2 separate regions of the Homo sapiens genome follow, and region 1 is linked to region 2. Evidence: promoter capture Hi-C in 16 types of primary human blood cells and fetal thymus (Javierre and others, 2016). All regions are on one chromosome and are shown on one strand. Each heading gives the region's core, a stretch centred on a gene start or on the middle of the fragment in contact. The rest is flanking DNA. Distances are from core to core; before and after follow the strand shown.

The links. Contacts are between HindIII fragments. The CHiCAGO score rates a contact against its expected background, and 5 or more counts as called.
Region 1: a fragment that was not itself captured here is called in contact with the fragment with the promoter of ARHGAP15-AS1 in region 2 in 1 of 17 cell types (neutrophils); the score reaches 6.1 in neutrophils.

Annotation. Positions count from the first base shown.
Region 1 is chr2:145,184,128-145,188,927 of GRCh38, forward strand. LOC100505498 (a long non-coding RNA gene) reads left to right here. Exons shown (of 8, transcript XR_923410.3): 5 at 1-2,678; 6 at 4,741-4,800. Among named protein-coding and RNA genes, the nearest start is that of LINC01966, 300 kb to the left of the region's middle. The HindIII fragment of the contact is 1,496 bases long and covers 1,775-3,270 here.
Region 2 is chr2:143,773,458-143,778,318 of GRCh38, forward strand. It overlaps ARHGAP15-AS1 (ARHGAP15 antisense RNA 1), which reads right to left and starts at 2,641. Exons shown (of 8, transcript XR_007087251.1): 1 at 2,546-2,641; 2 at 1,726-1,901. The HindIII fragment of the contact is 5,908 bases long and covers 1-4,577 here.

The DNA of each region.
Region 1 (4,800 bases), core at 1,273-3,772, 1.4 Mb after region 2:
TGCAGAATCTTGAAAAGGTCAACATAGTAGCAGTATGACAGGCCATGTAAGTCATTATGTGCTTTATAATTCATTTGTAAGTAGAATGAGAACTGGAGCAAATTAAATGTAAACTCTGCCATAGGACCTCTAAAAACATGTTAGTCATATGGAAAGCTAGGTTTTGTTTTCTATCTAGAAAGACAAACAAATATTTCTTCACAAATGTGTTACTTTCCTGAGGAGAGCAGAAATGGGAGATAAATCCATTTGCTGCAAAGTGGTTTAAAGAAAATATATTGGCAGCAGGAGGAAGGTGGTTTAGGGAGATGATATGTAATAGAATACATATACAAGTACTATGAGCGTTGAGATTCAGGTTAGTGCTAATTAGACATTTCCTGATCAGTGAAAATCGTAAGACTTTCAAAGTCCTGTATTTTAAGAAATAGTAAAATCTATCAGGTAAGATAATATATTTATGACTTACCGCAGTATTTTTGTGATGGTTCTGTTCTTTGTGAAGCCTTATTTTGCATTGAAATTGGCACAATTTTACACCGTTAACCAAATTTTCTTTTAATGGAAACTCACACACACATAGCACATTCTTTAGTACTAAGATGCTAAAGTTGCTGAACATGCTACAGGTGATTATGAGGCAGTAGTGAAAGAGTTAATTATCCATCATTCCTCCCCCCTACCCTAGACATCCCACTGTGCCTCTGTTATAGACTTAGGCACAGTTCCTAATGGCAAAATCTATTAGAATGCACAATATTCTCCCAAGGGAGCTGGTGGAAGTTCTGTCACTTGAGACATTTAAAACTACACTGGGTAAAGCACTAGAGAGCTGTGAGTGCATGTGTTCCAACCCTCAGGACAGAAATCATGACCTAATGGGTGATTTCTATCCCTTAATGTCTCTGATTCGCTGGGTGTTTTAATAGCTCCCTCATATTTAAGTAGATGACCAACGGTCTATTTTTTTTTAATGGAACTTGAGTTTGGTCTGTAAAGTGTCAAGACAGAGGTGACAAAACAAACCACAGGGGAATGGAGGAAGCCTCGTGGAAATTTAGTTGGTTTGAAGGAGGGTTGAGCAAACACAACAGTGTATTCGGGTTTAGCAAATGCCTTGACTTCTTTTTTTTTTTTTTTCAAATGTTTTCAGTTCAAGGAAACCCAAAACACATTTGGCTAAACAGTTTTTCCTTAATTTTCAAACCCATGTGTATTTCAAGGGAAATTTAATCCATGTGTTTCTGATTCATTTACACTTAGCTCATCAAAATGTGGTTTCATAAGACCCATTTGATGTCTAAGAAGCCTTGTGAGCTTTTTTTTTTACAAGCTTTTTTTCTTTGAACCAGGAAGTTACATTTTGCCAAGAGTCAATGGAACTTCAACCAGAAAAGAATCAGTTTTGTTTGGGATCTTGGAATCCTCAAAGTTGGTGGGAGCTAATGAGCCGGGAGGGGAGGGGAGGAGAAGCTGATTCAGAGAGCAGGAACCTTCCCATTTCTAATATGTTATCTGTTCAGATAACTTGAAAATCTAATTTTCTCTCAGTTTATAGTAGAAAATTCATCTTCAATTTTTGAAAATCTTGTGGAAAACATGAGCATGAATTTTATTACAGGGTCCAATGCTGTCACATGATCTGATAATCATCCACTAGTGAGTCTGTGGGTGATGAGTATCAGAGCAGTAATGACATACTTATCTTAGAGGCAATTATTAAGAAGTGACTCACAAAAGTGTTTAGATTGGCCATTTTTTTAATATTTAAAAAAGCTTCCTCTGCCTGGTTGTTGTCGCTCTGTGCACAACACTACTGGTTATTTAAGAAACAAGACAAATAAGACTCAGTGAATGTGCTGATTCAGGTGCACACAATCCCCTATCTCATTGCTGGTGTTGCTAAAGAGCATCTGGGGTAAGGAAACATGCATCCGGTCCATCCGTCAAGAGTCCATGAGAAAGCCAACAATGTTTGCACCTGCAGGATGAATTACATCTTTGGTGAGTGTGGGAAGCTACATAATGAGACAGCTGAGTGGCTGACATTTCTTTTTTCTTGCTCCTTCTGCACCTTCTTTTTGCACTACCTTCATTTTTCCCACTTCCTCTCCCTTTTCCCCACCTTTATACAATCACCACCAATAATGGAGCAAATGTGGCACATCCATCCAAGGATGGGTTGACATGGTTTACACATTGCTTTCATTTGGTTGTTCTTTGGATGAATTCTTCCTTGAGAACAAGATAATGAAAACCATACGGTCATTGAGCACACAATCTGCCTTCACTTTGGCTGTTCCCTCGCAGCCCGTTTCATTTTATAAAGCCTGGTCCCTGAGTTTACGCCAGTAGAAGATCCCAAGCAGGTGGAATCCTGCCCCCTATGGGCTTGCAGAATTCAGCAAACACTGTCAGTTTAGCTCTTGCCTGTCACCCATACATCAGAGAACTTATTTGAATGGAACATCTCTTGCTAGTCTGGTAAAGGTTTAGAAACTTGGCCTTCTAAGTATTCATGTAAGTTCTGTTCTGGGACCTTCATTGTAGGAACTGAAAATGAAAGAACCAAAATAGATATCAACAGATAATTAAAGGAACGTTTGGAAGTTTTTTACCTCATGCAAACCTCAAACTCTGAACCACTACTGCCTAAAGGAAATAAATACTGTGTTATGGTGAGTGAAGGTAAAGGTGTACTTTATTTCTTGGATGAGTTTTGACAGTGTAAAACAAAATGATAAGTTTTTAACTATGGCAGAAAGTTCAGACAACAGGTGTGAGGGAAAAGAATTATTCATTGATTCAAAGTCCCATACAAGTGAGTGAAATGGCTAAAAGCAATAAAATTACAGATGACGTCTTTGGAATTTAAACAAAAGAAGTTTATTTTCACTTTCTAATTTGTAGCTTGCTTTTATAGACACCAAAGAAACATCACAGAAATATTAAATTATTCTCTGAAAATACAAAGATAAAAACTATTGAGGTTTAAGATAGAAGATATTTTCTCTTAAAATTGGCTATGATACTTCTACACTGATAGAACTTATGAAAATAGCCAATCTATTATGACTAATTTAATTTTCTTTCCCAAAGATACATAATTCAGAATAAAAACCGTAATCAATGCCCAAAACACAAATCTCATACATCTTGCTAATGCTGGAGAAATAGTGTCAAGTTCTTTTTCAGTACAAATATATGCAGTACTTTTACTATGTTTTGTTTTTAATTCTCAGAAATCCTTATTATTAATCAAGCAAAACAAGCTTTTTATAATATAGAATTATCCTTCCGCTGTAAGAGTAGAAGCAAAGTAATTCAAAGTAAAATATGAAAAGTGCTATAATTTAGTAAGAGATGGAAAGAAATTTAGAATAATTTTGTTCAAACTCATAATTTTATGATTGAAGAAACAAAAATCCAGAGTGTTTAGGAGTTTGTTCAAAGTTCAAAACCTGGAATCTCTAAGGTTGGATATCAGAAGTCAGCTCTAAATACAAGTTCAGTGCTATTTTAACAATCAATAAAATTTCTAAGAGCAATATATTCCTGAGATGGAACACATCAGAAAAGACTATAGGGATTCTTTGAATTTGGAAAGTTCTTACTAGGTAGAAATTCCAATAAATACAACAGATTAAAATGGAACTCATTCACTGAGGTGGAGTTGGAAACCCTAGGGTCTCATTTGTTAGCTCCTCTCACCCACTCCTTCTGAGGGCCCTCTGAATACCTTGTAAAAACTCCAAGAGTTTCTTAGGACACTGTCTTAAAACCACCAATAATATTCCCAGTTGTGGTGAGTAGACTCAAAAGTGACCCCAATGACCCTACAAAGTACCACAGACTGGGTGGCTGAAACAACAGACATTTATTTTCTCATGAGTCTGGAGGTTAGAAGTTTGAGATCAAGGTGTCAGCAGAGTTGGCTTCTGAGGCCTCTCTCCTTGGCTTGTTGATGGCCATCTTCTCTCTGTGTCTTCACATGGTCTTCCTTCTGCACTTGTCTGTCTCTTAATTTCTTCTTGTAAGAACACCCATCATTGCATTAGGGCCTGCCCTAGTGACCCCATTTTAACTTAATTATCTGTTTAAAGACTTTATGTCTGAGTTTAATTAAGCTAATACAACAAAATACCTTAGACTGGGTAATTTATAAACATCAGAAACTTATTGCTCATAATTCTAGACACTGGGAAGTCCAAAATGAAGGCACCAGCAGAGTCAGTGTCTGGTGATGGCTCACTCTGCTTCAAAGATGATGCCTTCTCAAGTGTCCTCACAAGGTGAAAGGGTGAGGCATCTCTCTGGGGTCTCTTTTATCAGGACAGCAATCTCATTCACAACAGCAGAGCCCTCATGACCTAATCATCTCCCAAAGGTCCCACCCCCTAATATCATCACCTTGGTGAGTAGGTTTCAATATATGAATGTTGTGGGTATGCAAACATTCAGATGATAGTACCTTATCTCTAAATACAGTTACATTCTGGGGTACAGTGGGCTTTGACATATAAATTTGTGGGTTGTGGGGAAGCGGGCATTTTTCAGCTCCTAACACTCACCTTTCTATATTATCCCTTTGTATCATACCCTCCCCTTGGGTGGGAAATTTGACTTGATTCTAATCTATAGAATATGACAAAAGTGATAGGAGTCACTTTATCACTTCATGATTATGTCACATGATAAAATAACCTGTCTTGTTCTAGAGATTTTCTGTCTCTCTTATAGACTTTGAAAAAGTGAAGTGGCCATGTTAGGAGGCCCAGATGGTAAGGAGCTGAGGGAGGC
Region 2 (4,861 bases), core at 1,391-3,890:
TATGCCAGATCAATATTTGAATCTAAGTAATATGGCGCAGAGGCACCTGCCTTAACCACTGTACCATATGATCACTTAATTAGGAAAAGATGCTGAAAAAAATGTAAGTGCATAAACATCCCCAGGTATTTCTACTTGTGTGGGTGCCTGGTCATTCTGTTAAAACACCTGATGAAAGTTTTACTTTCATATGAATTTTCATAAAAGAATAAGGGGGATATTACACAATTTTTTCAAAGAAATACAGAGTACCTCTGTTCTTATGAGTAGATGGTTAATCTCATGCATGTTATTTCTATAATTTTAATATTTGTGTAGCATTTTGTTTGCCTACATGTTTTGCAGACATTGTACTAATTTTTTACTGCATTATGGAAAGGACAGAACAGAAGCCTCTTTACCCATCTTTACAGGTACCTGTTGGGGTAGCTTCAACCCCATGTTATGTTGTATTATGCTGTGTTGGATCATATTTGTCAGTGTCCTGTTATCATCTATCATACCTTACTATCTAATATTGTATTGAACTTAAATCTGGCCCTTTAGGGGTCCTGTGAAAGATGAAAAATGTGGGTCCCAGCAGCCTTCCTCTTAAATATAATTGAAAAAGAGGCAGGCATCAAGACATGTCATGTCTCATGCTGCCAGAAAGTGATCTTGAATCATTTAAATGATGAGAATACAGTGAACATTTTGTACAAAAAGATGACAATTTTCTGTAGTAGTGTTGTCCAGATGAAAATGCCTAGCTGTCTTGGTAAGAGACCTGAAGAAGGATATACACACACACACACTCCTTATAGACTTATACAACTGATTTTTGCTATTTTATGCTTGAAGCAAAGTATGCAGGGTCCACAAAACTCTTAAGCCATCAGTAGGATTCTATACAACACTCCCCATTCAATAAGGAGAGCGCTAAGAAAGCAGTAAGTGAGAGTGGCAACACCATGCCCGTGCTTGGGGCTCTGTGCACACTTGATGGATCAGTGAACCAAGACAAAAACCCAGAACACTAGCAACATTAAATACAAATATGATCCACCGTCAGGTTTCCTATCAAGTTAAATGTAGCGTCTTATGTGCAGCCAAATCAGTGGTATTTGTGTTGACTCTTAGTCCCACCTAAACAAGGGCCATCAAACAGACATTCCTTCAGCTACCTCTCTTGAAGTGCAAGTCCCTAAGAAATGCTTACTAAATCACAGAAGCAGTGGAGAGATGGTAAGATTCACCAATCTAACCCATGCAAGTCTGACAGCAAATTTTGATGTCCCGGTTCAAGTCAGCTGGGAGGAGGAGGGGGTCTTAGGCATCTGTGACACCCAGCAGCATCTTCCACTAACCTTCTCTCCACTTATCAATGTGTGGTTTACATGTCAGACAAATGTTATAAGGCATAGGCATTCTGACCAACATATGAAAATCTCAAAAGCCAAGGAATCTGGAAAATACAAGGCAGTGGCCTGAAAATCCTCACTTTCCTCTGGCACTATTTTCGCTAACAAGTTTACTTGACACACATGCACACACACACACACATGCACACACACACTGGAATTTTAAGAGCAGGAATGTAACCATTGTGCTAACCATTCTCACATCACTCGCAAAATGTGTTCTAAGTCCATATTGTGCAGCATACTTGAAGACATGTGGATTTTTCCACATCATTTGGTGACATTTTACACAGTTTAATTTCTGCTCTTTCTTGCTAGACCCTACCTTTTTTTTCTCTCACAAACATTCCACCAATGGGATTTTCTTGAGCATTTTATCCTGCGCTCAGATTCCTCCCTTTTCTTCAGCATCTACTTGTATCGCTGCTGCACAACTTTGCCATGATGTGTCTGTCAAATTTCAGCCTCCCAGATTGAAAAGAAGGGGACACAGGTGTTCAACTGCCAAGGAGAGAAACCAGGTTAATGGAGTAGGGGCCGGCCTATGGGGCCGGCCTAAAGGGAAACCTCACAACCACAGGCAGAGGCCAACATGGAAGACTCCAGAGAAACGTGGTCCAGCTCGGGATGTTCCATTCCTCCATTCTCCTCACCAGACCAGGTGAAAGGCAGCTTTTAAAGTTGGAAGGAGTGAGGAATACAATTGAAACCAAAATTGGTTTGAGCTCACTATTTTTCTAGCTATCAGTTCTGAGGTCACAGTCACTAAAACTGGAAACTTAAAAATGACTTCAAAAAGGCAAACGCTAACTAGATTTCACACTGGATTTCATTTTACTTGGCATTACAGAAAGAATGCAGGTATTAAATACACTGTTTCCTGTATACAATAAGGTTAATTAGTAGTGAGGGATGGAAAATCAGTGTAGACATAACTCTTTTCGACAGGTATCAAAAATAATCCCCTGATCCCTACAGACCCCAGCTGCATTGAAAGAGGAGTAATATAAAAGATTCTTTAAGCACAAAATTTTCAAACATTCTCCAGGTGTCCCCAGCACCAGTTAAATAGGCCCTGAACCCCCTGTGCATGGGCTGGCTCCCGCTCCATTCCCTGGCTCTAACTTAAAGGCGCAGCTACTCACATTGAATTTTCAGGTGCTGCGTAAAAGCTCTCCATACAAAGCGGCTGGGATTGCAAACGGAGACAGACAGGAGAACAAAAAGAAGAATATATTGCGCCCTGCCTGGGTCTTCCCTAAGCTCCTTATCAATAAGGTTAATAAGGGTCTATGCAATTTACTGATCACTATGATGCAACAACCCTCCTTGTGCTCCAAATCTCCACGTAGGCGCTGGCTTTTAATGCTTTTCTCAGCCAATCACATAAAAGCGCTTTTGCCCGCACCCCAGAGAATAAACTCCGGTTCACGATCCTGGCCTCTGTAAAATCTCTGGTCCGTTATTACACTTCTACCTGCCCTAGTTAAGCAGATTAACAGTTATTTCCTAGAATTTGATCTATGAGGTTCTTTGTAATTGAAGCTGGAGTACTCAGATATTACTAAAAAATGTATTTCTGAAAAACGCATTCCTTTTTTCTCTGGTTTAATTTTGTTATCCTCAATCATATGCATGATATTAAAAAAATCCAAATTTCTATCTCCTCTATAAAATACATGTCATATCAAAAAGGTGACAAGAGGGGGGAAAAGTAATTAGTGAGTTCACGGAGTTCAGTAGAAAAGTTAAAATGGAGTAACACATTACTTTTTATGTTAAGATTTCACAAGACAAGTCTTGCCTGTGTTTTAATTGCATGTGACCCTGGCAGTCCTACTCTGAAATGAAGTGCCGTAAAATTAAAGATGACAGACGCTCAAAACAAGTCTTGTGATCTTGATTAAACTACAAAGACCACACTCTCTCTCTGCTGCAACTCAGATATCATGGGCTGTTTTATTTGGGGAATTGCTTCATTAATGCCTTCTTTGACTAGACATGTTTATTATATTAAAAAAACTGAATATGGTGATATCTCGCATAGCTAAATAATTCCCCCTAAAATGCAAGTTACAAATGAAGAGTGTTTAAATATCCTGCAGACCTAATGCTTTTATAAATGCTCACAATTATATATCTATATATCATATGTATGTGTGTGTATGCATGTGTGTGTGTGTATATATATATATACCACAATCATGAATAATTGAATATGGGCATGTATGGATATATATGACCATATTCATCCTTGAAACATGAATTACCTATGCTAACCTAGGAATCTCTACTATAGTCTGAGAAGCAGAGCAATTATTCTACTATATTTTCTTAGCCATGTAAAATTTCCCAGGCCAACAGAATGTAAAGAATTTTACATTATCCTATACAGACAACTTCTGAGAAAACACTGGAATTTTAAAGTTCCCAGGTATAGTCTGAGAAGAGAACTGGATTTGATTCACACCTGATTTTTCAAAATTATTATCAAGACATTCCATCTAAGTTATATAAAACATAGAATAGATGCTTTTAAATCCTGCTTCTTCCCCTGGGTGGGAGTGGGAAAAAAAGCAGAGTTGAGAGCAAGTCCTTATTTCATTCTGCTGTTAGTGTCTCTCCCATATGTCTCCACTCACCAGGTCTTGTTCAAATCTCAAGCCCTCTGGGACAAGTCCTTGTCCTCAACAAGGACCTTAACAAGTAGGTGAGATTATTCATGTCTAGGGTCTCCTACATTCTAAAGTTCTACGATCCTGTTATTTTGTCCCATTTCAAGAACACTATTTTTAATTCATGTTCCAATTCGTCAATTTTATTTCATTTTAAGAAACAAGAAGACACTATATTTGTAATATACACTGGCTATGTGGGTGTTAATATCTAACAGGGATATATGGATTCACCTGAGAATCAGAGCTGGGAAATCTGGTTTCCAGAATTCACTTTTTCCTGGAGTATTCATCATTCCAGATAAGTCTCCATACACATGTCTCAATTTCTTCATGTTCAAAACACATATGGCAGTTTTTGCCCTACCTAACAAAAAGGGTTGTTGTGAAAATAAAATACAATACTATATATTAAAAACTCTTTGAAAAAAAGTATGACTGATGCTTCCCAATCAGTATTATTTTTACAATTTTTCTACCAATGGCCTTCAGTAAACACAAAAGCTTTTGCATTTACAAGCCAACTGACCCTTTAACTTACACTGTTCTTTTAAAAATCTTCATGCTTGCCTTTAAAATGAAATGCTTGTTCCTGTATGTTTTTTCAACACTGTCAAAAATCCTCAGGTGAAAGATATATCATGTCTTTCATATGGGAGATTTTTATTTGACAGAATAACTCAAGATTCTGGACATAAGAAAGTGTTTATTAGAACCTAATTATGTATAGCATTGCGAGATTATGTTCGGCTAAGAGAACTGCAGTTACATCTACTTTCAGCCTCT